Linked DNA regions of Homo sapiens: region 2 is linked to region 1. Evidence: promoter capture Hi-C in 16 types of primary human blood cells and fetal thymus (Javierre and others, 2016). All regions are on one chromosome and are shown on one strand. Each heading gives the region's core, a stretch centred on a gene start or on the middle of the fragment in contact. The rest is flanking DNA. Distances are from core to core; before and after follow the strand shown.

Region 1 (6,323 bases), core at 2,585-5,084:
GAGAAGTGGGCACTGATCAGCCTGGCTGTGCCTGTGGGCAGGTCGCTTTGCCTCTTCCAAACCACATATGTGAACTGGGCATAGCACTGACCTCCTGGAGCTCTCAAGAGAATTAAACAGGACATCTGGGAAAGGGGGCCCTTCCCTCCTCTGCCACCCCAGTGACCCCAGGGAAGGTTTCTACCCACCCCAAACACTACCCTCTGTACCTGAAACGTCATGATCAGAAGAGGGAGAGGTGTTTGCTGGAACCCACTTTGTGCCAGGCACTCAACATGTGAACCCTTTCTTAAATTTTTTTTTTTTTTTTGAGACCGAGTCTCACTTTGTCACCCAGGCTGGAGTGCAGTGGTGCCATCTCGGCTCACTGCAACCTCCGCCTCCTGGGTTCAAGCCTATATACCTCTTCTCTAAATCCTCTCAGGGTCCATAGAATCCTTTCCTGGACACTAAGTCTCCTTTGAAGAACTCATTTGTTTCCTTATTTGGTCATCTTTCTATTATACAAGCTTTTTTTTTTTTTTTCCTTTTTAGACAGAGTCCGCTCTGTCACCCAGGCTGGAGTGCAGTGGTACCATCTTGGCTAACTGCAACCTCCACCTCCTGGGTTCAAGTGATTCTCCCACCTCAGCCTCCTGAGTAGCTGGAATTACAGGAACCCACCACCGCGCCCAGCTAATTTTTTTTTTTTTTTTTTTTTTTTGAGACACAGTCTCGCTCTGTCGCCCAGGCTGGAGTGCAGTGGCACGATCTCAGCTCACTGCAAGCTCCGCCTCCCAGGTTCACGCCATTCTCCTGCCTCAGCCTCCCGAATAGCTGAGACTACAGGCGCCCACCACTGTACCCGGCTAATTTTTTGTATTTTTTAGTAGAGACGGGGTTTTACCGTGTTAGCCAGGATGGTCTCGATCTCCTGACCTCATGATCCGCCCACCTCAGCCTCCCAAAGTATTGGGATTACAGGTGTGAGCCACCGCACCCGGCTAATTTTTGTATTTTTAGTAGAGATGAGGTTTTACCATTTGGCCAGGCTGGTCTCGAACTCCTGACCTCAAGTCATCCTCCCATCTCGGCCTCCCAAAGTGCTGGGATTACAGGCATGAGCCACCAGGCCCAGCTTCTTTAAAAAAATTTTGAAACAGGATCTCACTCTGTCACCCAGGCTTTGCAATCATGGTTCACTATAGCCTCAAACTCCTGGGGTCAAGAGATCCTCCTGCCTCAGTCGCCCGAGTAGCTGGGACTATAGGCATGCGCCACAGTACCTGGCTAATTTTTAAATTTTTTTGTAGAGACAGGGTCTTGCTATGTTGCCCAGGCTGGTCTTGAACGCCTAGGCTCCAGTGATCCTCCCTCCTCAGCCTCTCAAAGTGCTGGGATTACAAGTGTGAGCCACCGCACCCGGCCACAGGTGAACTGTTATTTAACCTTCAAAACAACACTGTGGGGTAGGTATTATTTCTCCCTTTTTACAAATGAGGAGCCTGAGACAGAGAGGAGTCCTTTCTTTCTCCTGCTGTCTGGGCCAGGGCACCTGGCATGGAGATCAGGAAGGTATTCGGGCTGAAGGAGACACAGGCCTGCACACCCTCCTCTAATGGGGATGGCCAGCTGTGGGCAGACACTGTGCTGGGCACAGGGCTCCAGGGATGAGCAAGACAGACCTAGTCCTGCCCCCTCAGAGTCATGGCCAGTGGGGACACAGACAGGAAACAGACTCCACTCCCAGTGGGTTCAGTTTGCAGGTGCACAGGGAAGCTGCTGGTGTTGTGAGGGTGTACAACAGAGCAGGAGAGCGGGTACTGACCTGGTCTGGGGGCTGGGGGAAGGCCCAGGGTCTGAAGGATGTGTAGAAGGTGGCAAGGGCACGACCAGGGGGTAAGTGTTCCTGCCGGAAAGCAAGGACCAACCAAGCCCTGAGGGAGTGTAAGAGGCCCGGGGCCAGTTCGTGGAGACAAGAAGAGATTTCCAACTCGATTTGGGGAGTCACTGATGGTTTTAAGCAGGTAGTGGCAGGCTCAGATTCAGAGTGGAAACCCTTGCTGCCTGTCTGCAGCGCACTAGGACACGGGGAGGCAGGAGACCATGGGCTCCAGGAGGAGCCTGGACGCCGGAGCAGGACAGTGGCCATGGGAAAGGGAGAACGTGGCTGGCCCCAGATGAAAAGAGCAGGGCCCCCAAGGCTCTGTGAGTGGGATGAGAGGGGGAGAGGAAGGGGCCAAGGCTGACCCCGTGCTTGGGTGGACAAAGGGCCCTTCACAGAGCTGGAGGCAGGGGATGATCGAGGGGCCCAGGGAGTCAGACTAGAAGCCGGGCTTATTGGAGGAAGAGCAGTGGGCTGGGAGAGGCAGGCATGGAGTGGGATTGAGGGAGCCCAGGGGTGGGAGGGAGAGCTGGGAGGCGGAGGTGCGACCGCGGTGGGGTCAGTGTGCGGGGAGTGGACGAAGCGGAGGATTGATGGGGGCGGGGGTCCCAAGCAAAGATGCTGGAGGGAGGCCTCCGTGGAGCGGACCGAGACCTCAGGAGCCTCCAGTCGGACTGGGGAGGCAAGAAGGAGGCCCTGGCTTCGATCTCGCACACGGCCTCGCAGGGATGAAGCCCGGGAGCCGAGGCTCGGTCTTCCCCACTGTGGTCCCTCTGGTCCGCCCGTTACCTCACCGACCCCCCGAGGGGGCTTTTAAGAGCTGGAAGAGGGGGTCCCGGGGGGCACTGATGCACCCCCACTCTCCTCCGCCGACCCAGAGGGTGGGAGCTCAGGTTCAAGGCCTGGCCTGGCCGTGCGGCTCCGGGACCCGGCTCCGCCCCGCGTCGGGGGGTGGCCCCGGCCCCTGGCCCGCCCCTTCCTCGGGTCCCCTCCCTGTCCGCGGCGCGCAGCCGGGTCTCATTAGCGCCCCTCCCCCCGGCTGCGCGCCGGGGGTCTCCACGGCCGGGGGGAGGGGCGGGCCTTAATCAATCCTAGGCCGGAAATTCCTCCCGGGGGGCCCGGCCTGACCGCTGAGCCTGGAAATCGGTCGCCGCCTCCCCCGAACCCGCCCCCCGCATCATGGAAACTGGGCCGACCGCCGGCCGCCCTGGCTCCCCCGCTCTGCATTCCTGCCTCCAGGGGCGGGAGGGCGCGAAGGCCGGGCCGCCCCCTTCGGGCTCGCCGGCGGGGTCGCAGCTCTCAGCACCCTCCCCGTTATTGGGAACAAGCCCGCTCCCCCACTGGCGAAGGGGCGCCTGTTCTTAGGAGTACCCGGCGGCACATCCGCACCCCGTCCGGTCCTTTCAGCTACAAGGCCCGCCCCTCCCCGGGCGCTGCTTTCGCTGAGGGCTTTGCGGAGTCGCCCCGGGCTGGCCCTTGGCGTCTGGCTCTTGCCTCTCGGCATCTTGCGAGGCTGAAGCCTTGGTGCCCATTGCACAGATGAAGTCCGCGAGGTTCAGCGACAGCAAGGGCTGCGGGACCGGGGCAGAGCAGGGACTCGGGCCGCCTCCTCCTGGAAGCTCCCCGGGCGCCTGGGATGAGGGGCTCTGGGAAGCGGGGAAGGACGTGCGGGTGTCGGGGCTCCTGGGTCCCGGGTCTCAGTTTCCCCATGTAGGAAGGGGTCGCCTTTGTGGGCCTTTGCGACCGATGTAAGCTGGGGGTGGGAGAGTGGGGATGGCAGAACTCGGGCCACGGGTGCCCGGAGTCACCAGGCGCGCACAGGGCGCCTACCTGCGATCCTTTGACCTGAGCTGCCGCCTTTCAGCGGCGGTGGGGCCGGGCCCGGCGCGGGTCGGACGGTCCCGGGGGCTGGAGGCGGGGCCGGGGCGGGGCTGGGGCCGGGCCGTGGAGACCCGGGCGGCTCTGGAGCCTCCGCGCGCGGACTGGGACCCGGACCCGCGCGGCGCTGCGGCGCCAGGTGAGCCGAGCTGGGGTCCAGGGGTCCGCACTCCACTTTTCCCAACTTTTCGTTTGGTCCCTCCCTCCCTCCCTCCCTCCCTCGGTCAGGGCCCCTGGGGGCGGGAGCGCGGCCCTCCCGTTCCCCCAGGCGGGAGTGTGGACGCGGGCGGTGGCGGGACCCTGGAGTCCTGGGGACTCGGCCCCAGCATCTTCTGTCGGGCTGTGCGCTGTGTCCCCAAGTTTCCGCCTCCCTGGTGTCCCCAGCGTCGGCCCACTACCTCCACGGCTCGGGGTCTCTGAGCGTGTCCCCATGTCCCCACTCTGCTTGTTTTCGCTTCCCTCGCGGCAGCGACGCGCGGGGCTCCGGGTGACCTTGCTGGAGCCGGGGCTGAGAGCGCCAGTTCTGGCTTGAAGCGATGATCGCTCCTCCGGTTGCGGGCTGGGGAAAGGGCTGCAAACTCAGGGACAAGGAGGGGATGGGCCTCGCTTCCTCCTGGATACTCCCGTGGCTGTCCTGAGAGGGGTCTAGGGCTGGGGCCCCGGAGCCCGGCGTCGGACCTGGCAGAGCCCCCGCCTAGTGCGGGGTCGGGCAGTCTCCCCGGCCTCCCTGGGCCGTAGTTGCAATCTGTGAAACCAGGCTTTGGACGCGGGAGAGTGGCGGCTCCCTGCTAGGCCCGGGCCTTGAGCGCTCCAGTCGGAGGCAGGGATGGGTGTCCTGCTTTGAGGTTTGGGGTGCAGATGGGGCGTGGGTCGGGGAGCAAGGCCGCCTCCCCGAGGTTTCGGCTGCGGGCTCCAGCGCGGTGGTTCTTTAGGAAGCGGACGCGAGCAGTGAGGACGACCCTGGACAGCTAGGCCCTGAGCCTCCTCTCCTGCGGCCTGGGGCGCCTGGGCGGGGGCCGCGTCTTCTCCCTCGCCCTCCCTTTCGTGGGGGCCACACCGCACGCAGCTCGGCTACTCCTGCTGGGCCCGGGATCCAGGCCACAGGCCGCAGGCAGGGCGCGGCCAGCAATCGGGAGGGCTTAAGCTGTGCGGCCCGGATCCCGAGGCGCAGGGGCGGTGCTGCTCTGACCGGGCCACGGGCCACGGAGGCCTCGGGCGGAGGAGGCGGGAAAGGAGGCCAGGCGGCGGGAAAGGGGGATGATTCATCCGGAGGAGCCCGAATTGGAAACGTCGCAACCTGGGAACAGCCTTGCCCGGGCCGACGGGGGAGCCGGGAGGGCATCCGTCCGGCGGGGCCCAGCGCCCGGCACCGGCACCCCCGCCTGCTGCCGTGGCCCCAGCACGACCGCTGGGGGAGGGAGAGGCCTCTCATGCGTGGACTTGATGGAAATCTTGGGCGAAGTCGGCGCCGCCTCTCCTCCTCTGCCTGGCTGGTCTTGATCCGAGCGGTCTTCCCGGTGTCTAGCTCAAGTCGCTCCTGCTGCAGCTTCGCTGCGGGCGGAGGAGGTCTGGAAGGAGGGGGCGGGCAGGGAGAGGCTGGAGCCGGTGACGCCCCCTCCTCCCGCGCTGCGGTATGTAAAGCACAGTAGGGGGGAGGTGGGGCCCGGCGAGCGACCCCTGCGGACCTGGGAGGCCCGAGCGCCCCCGCCCCATTTGCTACGGTGCAGCCACGTGCGGGGGTGGGGTCGAGCCCGGGAGGTACTTACCCTGGAGACGCGGCAGCTGGGGGCCGCACGTTTCCCGAGGCCCAAGACCCGCGGGCTTGCGGACCGGACGCAGGCGGCAGATTTGCAGCCCGGGATGCGCCAGGGAACAGCCTGCGCCCCCCTCCCTCCTCTCCGCCCGCTGGCCGGGCCAACTCCGGCTTCTGCCGCGCGTGCCTGGCTCGGAGCTCCGCTGCGGAAAACCCGAGCGCGGGCGGCTCCCCGCCTCGCCGCCCGGGAAAATCCGGGGGTGGCCGCCAGGGATCTCCAAGCGGCCTGGGCTGGGCGGCCGGAGCTTCCCTCCCGGATTTGCGCCCCGAACCTGGCGCCCTGAAGCTAGAGGCCCGTCGGTCCAGTCCTTGCCTCCCATCTTCTCTCCGCAGAGCGCCCAGACGACGGCGAGATGACGGCCGGGAGCCCCGAAGAATGCGGGGAGGTGCGGAGGAGCCCCGAGGGCCGCGTCTCTCGCTTGGGCCGCCGCCTGGGCCGCCGCCGGCGCCCGCGCTCCCCGCCCGAGCCTCTGCGGGTGCGGGCGCGGCTGCGGCTGCGCTCGCCGTCGGGGGCGTTCGCGGCGCTGGGGGCGCTCGTGGTACTGGTGGGTATGGGCATTGCAGTGGCCGGCTACTGGCCGCACCGGGCCGGGGCCCCAGGGTCCCGGGCCGCCAATGCCAGCTCGCCCCAGATGAGCGAGCTGCGACGCGAGGGTCGCGGCGGGGGCCGGGCTCACGGCCCGCACGAGCGGCTGCGGCTCCTCGGGCCGGTGATCATGGGCGTCGGCCTGTTCGTGTTCATCTGCGCCAACACACTGCTGTATGAGA
Region 2 (6,323 bases), core at 2,799-5,298, 370 kb after region 1:
ACGAGGGACTATTTGTTTATTCCGCAAGGAATGAAAAGCATTAGGGTACTACTAATTGGGCCCACTGGAACTAGAATTTGGTCCAGGAGGTGGCAGCAGCATGCATATTTAAACTGTTACCTGCTTTGTGTAGGAGAAAGAAGCAACGATCTGAGCTGCCACTTTTTCCTTGCTCATTGTGCAGACTTACAGGATTTCAATGATGAATGTAAAAAAGCAGGAAGAGAACGTTTGCCCTAATTCAAAGAACAGAGCTTTTTTTTCTCCTCTGCATAAACTCCTAAGGAACTATAAGAACAGTCCTTCATCATGCTGTCCCTTAAAGGCAGGCAGGCAGGCAGGCAGGCAAAGCCAATGCTGTAAGCCTTCCCTATCTCCCTCCTGGGTAACTCTTCCTCATCCCTCCAAACCTGCGCCCAGACTAAATCACCCAACACCTTTAGAAGAGATGCTGAACTTGCTGAATCCTCATACTTCTCCCATATCAAAACAGATCCCTCTACCTCATCTTCCATGCATCATTCCCATTTTTAAAAATTCACTGTCATCTAGTGTGTTTCAAATTATGCTTCATAGGAGAGATGCTTCAGGTATCTTCTGGGAGAAGGGAAGCTGAACATGTAAAAATCATTCATGAGGTTCCAAGAAAAGTTTTGTTTGCAGGGAAAAAAAGAATTCCAATGCTAAAAACTGTTAGAGGAGTAATCTTTACTTCTGGTAGGTAAGCAGAATGGCTCATACTTGAGTGATTCTTGGTTTAAACTATTCAAGATATACTAAACGATTCTAGCATTGCCAACTAGCCCTTGTCCCACAAATGTTTAAGCATGGAAAAATAGCAGTCCTCCCTGGATCAATCTTTAGCCACATCAAAATCAAAATGCTGCCATTCTTCATATTCAACTCTGTATTTCAGACATTTTTACATAGTCTATTTCACCAAAACAGCCCATACTAGGCAAACAAAAGAGCTTTATAATAGCTCTTTAAGGCTTGGAACAGAGGTTGAAAGATACCGACTCTGCAAACACAAAGATAAAGAAACATGCAGAGTCTTTTGAATGAAGTACGGAGATCAAAACTTTCAAGTCTCTAATAGCAAAGCAACTTTTTATTCAACAGACATCACTGGCATCTGCAGTCATCTGTTACCTCTCTGCAGCCTCTGAGTTAAGTGTACTCTACCATACTGCTTGAAGTTCCATACAGGCTGTGTATCCCCTATCTGAAATTCTTGGGGTAAGAAATGTTTTGGATTTCAGATTTTTTGAATATTTGTAGATACATACTGGTTGAGCAACCCTAATCTGAAAATCCAAAATAGGAAATGCTCCAATGAACATTTTCTTCAGTGTCATGTGTGCACTCAGTTTCAGACTTTGGGGCATTTCAGATTTTCAAATTAGGAATACTCAACCTGAATAGCCCCTTCCTTGTTCTCTTTCTGAAACTCAAACTATTCTCTCTCAATCTCTTTCACTTGCTCCCTCTTTATTCTTCAAATTTTGTTATTTCTGGGGAACTTTTTCCATAGTCCTTTTCTCTCACTCGTGTTGGCTCTAGAACCACGCTGCAGAATTAGAACACCAGCTTTACTTTCGTATCTCATGTGCCTTTGCAAAGTTATTTACTCTTTTCTGTGTTTTAATGTTTTCATCAGTAAAACTGAGCTACTTATACCTACCTCACAAGGATACAAGAATTAAATGAACATACATTTAAATATATATTCAAGACAACTGTATGCTAGACACTGTACAGAGCATTCAATAACTGTTAGCCATTCTTATTACAAGAATCTTTGAAAAGTCAAACTCTTCCATGCCTTTACCTATCCTGAGGGTTGAAAATTCAAATTCCTGTCAACAATCTGAGCTCCAGATTCCCAGCTGCCTACTATCACCTGGCTGCTGCTACTATCACAGGCACCTGAAACTATTTCCAAAAGCCAATACAACCCCAAATCCTAACCCTAAACTGCTGCTCCTCTCATCATCTTTAATTTTTGAAAAACTAGTCAACAAATATGTCTACCACATTCTTCATATCCAGTTTCCCGTTCCCACTGTCCTGGTTCAGGCCCTCATCATCTTTTTTTCCCCAGAATACTGTAAAAGCATCTCGTTTAGTCTCTGAGCCATCTCCCACCCCTTTTTTTTTTTTTTTTTTTTTGAGCTGTCACCCAGGCTGGAATGCAGTGTTGCGATCTCGGCTCACTGTAACCTCTGCCTCCCAGGTTCAAGTGATTCTCATCCCTCAGCTCCCTGAGTAGCTGGGACTATAGGACTATAGGCACACACCACCACTCTTGGCTAATTTTTTTGTTTGTTTGAGACGAAGTTTTGCTCTCATTGCCCAGGCTGGAGTGCAGTGGAGCAATCTCGGCTCACTGCAACTGCCGCCTTCTGGTTTCAAGTGATTCTCCTGCCCCAGCCCCCTGAATACAGGCACCCACCACCACGCCCAGCTAATTTTTTAGTAGAGATGGGGTTTCACCATGTTGCCAGGCTGGTCTTGAACTCCTGACCTTGCGAACTACCCACCTCAGCCTCCCAAAGTGCTGGGATTACAGGCATGAGCCACCGCGCCCGGCCAATTTTTTTTTTGAGACACAGTCTCGCTCTTTCGCCCAGGCTGGAGTGCAGTAGCGCTATCTCAGCTCACTGCAAACTCCGCCTCCAGTGTTCACACCATTCTCCTGCCTCAGCCTCCTGAGTAGCTGGGACTACAGGCGCCCGTCACCACGCCCGGCTAATTTTTTTGTATTTTTAGTAGAGACAGTGTTTCGCCATGTTGGCCAGGCTGGTATCAAACTCATGGCCTCAAATGACCTGCCAACCTTGGCCTCCCAAAGTGCTGGAATTAGAGGCGTGAGCCAACTCACCCAGCCTCATAGATGTTTTGATAAGTTGCTTTCCTAAGCTTCCATTTGTTGATCTATAAATACAGGATACTGCCTCCCAGGTTGGTATGGGGATTAAAGTAAGGCTATGAAAGTACCTAGCATGGTGCTTAACAAGGTCAATGCTCAGTAAGTGTTTCATCCTTCCCATCCTCCAAACTGTTATTCCCTAATTAACTACCCTCCCTTACAACCAAACTAAAACACAGGTAAAGAATAAAATCCTAGGCCGAGCGCAGTGGCTCACACCTGTGATCCCAGCACTTTGGGAGGCCAAGGCAGGCAGATCACCTGAGGTCAGGAGTTTGAGACCAGCCTAGCCAACATGATGAAACCCTGTCACCACTAAAAATACAAAAATTAGCTGGGCGTGGTGACAGGCACCTGTAATCCCAGCTACTCGGGAGGCTGAGGCAGGAGAATCGCTTGAACCTGGGAGGGGGAGGCTGCAGCGAGCCAAGATCGCGCCATTGCACTCCAGCCTGGGGGACAAAGCGAGATTTTTGTCTCAGAAAAAAAAAAAAAAAAAGAATAAAATCCTGAAACTCTTCATATACTTGCCCAACCAATCTCTCCAGCGTTATCACTTACCATTCTAGACCACATTAAACTTCTCATTCTGAAAACATACCATAAGCATTCTCAAGACTATGTTTTTAACATGCTCTTACTAGAATGCCATTTTTTGGAAGACAGGGTCTCACTGTGCCCAGACTGGAGTACAGTGGTACCATCATGACTCACTGCAGACTTGACGTCCCGGGCTCAAGCAATCCTCCTGTCTCAGCCTCCTGAGCAACTAGGACTACAGGTGTGCCTCATCACACCTGGCTGATTTTTTTTTTTTTTTTTTTTTTTTTTTTTTTTTTTTTTTTGGAGAGGCAGGATTTCATTATGTTGCCTAGGCTGGTCTCAAACTCCTGGGTTCAAGTGATTCTCTTGCTGCAGCCTCCCCAAAGTGCGAGGATTACGGGCATGAGCCACTGCACCTAGCCATTTCTCTACTTTTCTATCTGGCAAACTTCATAGATCATGGAGTAGTCCATGAGCTTCGGGGTTAGAGACTCAGTGGCTCTCCAGGTGTAAGTTCCAATATACAAACATGAAACATGTTTTGAGCAACTTCTTTGCTAAACTGGGTAATAGTTTTTCAAATATTAGAATATTTCCTCAAAAAAATTTTTTTTTCTAGGGACAGTCTCCTGCTGTCACCCAGGCTGGGGTGCAGTGGCATGATCACAGCTCATTGCAGCTTTCATTTCCTGGACTCAAGCAATCCTCCTGCCTCAGCCTCCTGAGTAGCTATACTTTAGTTATGCGCCACCAAGTCTGGTTAATTTTTTTTAAATTTTTTGTAGAGACAAGGTCTCGCTATGCTGCCCAGGCTGGTCTCAAACTCCTGAGCTCAGGCAATCCTCCCACCTCAGCCTCCCAAAGTGTTGGGATTACAGGTGTGAGCCACTGTGCAGGACAAATTTTTGTGTTATTGAAAAAAAATGTTTAAGAGCTACAGTCGTGACACACAAATTTAATCTGCAATCAATATTTTCTCCATCACTATGAAGTCTAGACAATCAGCAAAAATTAAACATTGATTTATATACAGCATTTGTCAATTTCCACGATGTAACTAACAGCTGGGCCAGGCATGGTGGCTCACACCTGTAATCCCAGCACTTTGGGAGGCCGAGGCAGGCAGATCACAAGGTCAGGGGTTCGAGACCAGCCTGACCAATATGGTGAAACCTCGCTTCTACTAAAAATACAAAAATTAGCCGGGAGTGGTGGCAAGCACCTGTAGTCCCAGCTACTTGGGAGGCTGAGGCAGCCCTGAACCCGGGAGGTGGAGGACACAGTGAGTTGAGATCATGCCACTGCACTGCACTCCAGCCTGGGCAACAAGTGAGACTCCGTCTCAAAAACAACAACAACAACAAAAACACCACAGCTGATTTCAGATTACCAATGTGTTATCAGTGTGCAACAGCATATTATATATTGATACAACAGCTGTAAATAACCTCAAGAGTAAGGAATTTGAATATTACCTAATACGATGGTAATTATAATGTAATTTAATGTACAGAAAGGTATTCTTGAAAGCTAAACAGCTGGCTCCAACTAGCCAGCTCCAACACATCGCTGGAGAGACTTCTGTTAAAGACCAACTCCAACACTTACTAGCTATGAGACTTTGGATAAATAACCTCTGAGCCTCTTCCTTTATCTGAAATATGAGAATTACAGTGTTAGATAAGATAGCTAAGCTTCTGTGTGTACTATGTGCCAAGCACTGTGCTGCCATTTGAGTGCTTATCATTCTATTATTACTTATTTGGCAGGGTTCCAATGTTATTGCCTCCATGAATTCTTAATTTCCCCCAAGTAATTAATCACTTCTCCAGAATGCCAAAAATGTATTCATTCCTCTATTACAGCTCTTATCCCATATTTTATCCATTTTGCTGTCCTCCTAAAACCCTCTGCTTCTAAGGCAAAGATGGTGCCTTGTTTCTCTGTTCCATCCCAGCAATTAACACAAACGTTTGTTGAAAGATAGATACAAGGGGCATGGTTCAGAGATACAAATTCAATGTTATCTATTCTCTTCTAGTCCTCCTTTAAGGAGGCTGCAGAAAGAGGCGTTTTATCTATTCACAAAGCAAGGAAGGTGATGAGTAATACAAATAAAATTTCCTTAACCCTTTTGGCAGATAAACAAGTATATTTATCTGCAAGACAAAAATAGACATAGATGGCCTTAGGATTTTACAAAAAATGCTCATGTTTGTCATCCTGGTTTAAAACAGGATGCCCACTCACTAGATCTGAAGAGTCAATAAAACAGTGGTGGGGTGGTAAGATACTAAATGGGAGCCAACAGTATCACATGGTTATTTACTTCCTAAGGATTTAATATATTTAGCTCAAGTGAGGATGTTTTCCTCTTTTATATCACAGAAACTTGAATTTTTTTTGAGACAGTCTCGCTCTGTCACCCAGGCTGGAGTGCAGTGGTAAAATCTCTGCTCACTGCAACCTCCACCTCCTGGGTTCAAGAGATTCTCCTGCCTCAGCCTCCTGAGTAGCTGGGATTACTAGCGTGCACCACCACGCCCAGCCTTTTTTTTTTTTTTTTTTTTGAGACAGTCTCGCTCTGTCACAAAGGCTGGAATGCAGTGGCACAATCTCAGCTCACAGCAACCTCCATCTCCCAAGTTCAAGCGATTCTTATACCTCAGCCTCCTAACTAGCTGGTATTACAGGCACGAGCCACCACGCCTGGCTAATTTTTTTATTTGTTGTAGAGACAGGGTTTCACCATGTTGCCCAGGATGGTCTTGAACTCCTAGGCTCAAGTGATGTGCTCATCTCAGCCTCCCAAAATGCTGGAATTACAGGCATGAGTCACCGCATCCAG

What was found. Contacts are between HindIII fragments. The CHiCAGO score rates a contact against its expected background, and 5 or more counts as called.
Region 2: a fragment that was not itself captured here is called in contact with the fragment with the promoter of TMEM200B in region 1 in 2 of 17 cell types (activated CD4 T cells and neutrophils); the score reaches 5.6 in activated CD4 T cells.

What each region holds. Positions count from the first base shown.
Region 1 is chr1:29,121,414-29,127,736 of GRCh38, reverse strand. TMEM200B (transmembrane protein 200B) reads left to right here and starts at 3,834. Exons shown (of 2, transcript NM_001003682.4): 1 at 3,834-3,881; 2 at 5,889-6,323. The coding sequence starts at 5,909. RefSeq lists enhancers at 1,841-2,700, 2,701-3,560, 3,561-4,420 and a silencer at 6,100-6,323. The HindIII fragment of the contact is 10,456 bases long and covers 512-6,323 here.
Region 2 is chr1:28,750,813-28,757,135 of GRCh38, reverse strand. All of the region lies in intron 4 of YTHDF2 (YTH N6-methyladenosine RNA binding protein F2), which reads right to left. Among named protein-coding and RNA genes, the nearest start is that of YTHDF2, 17 kb to the right of the region's middle. RefSeq lists an enhancer at 2,126-2,625. The HindIII fragment of the contact is 2,247 bases long and covers 2,925-5,171 here.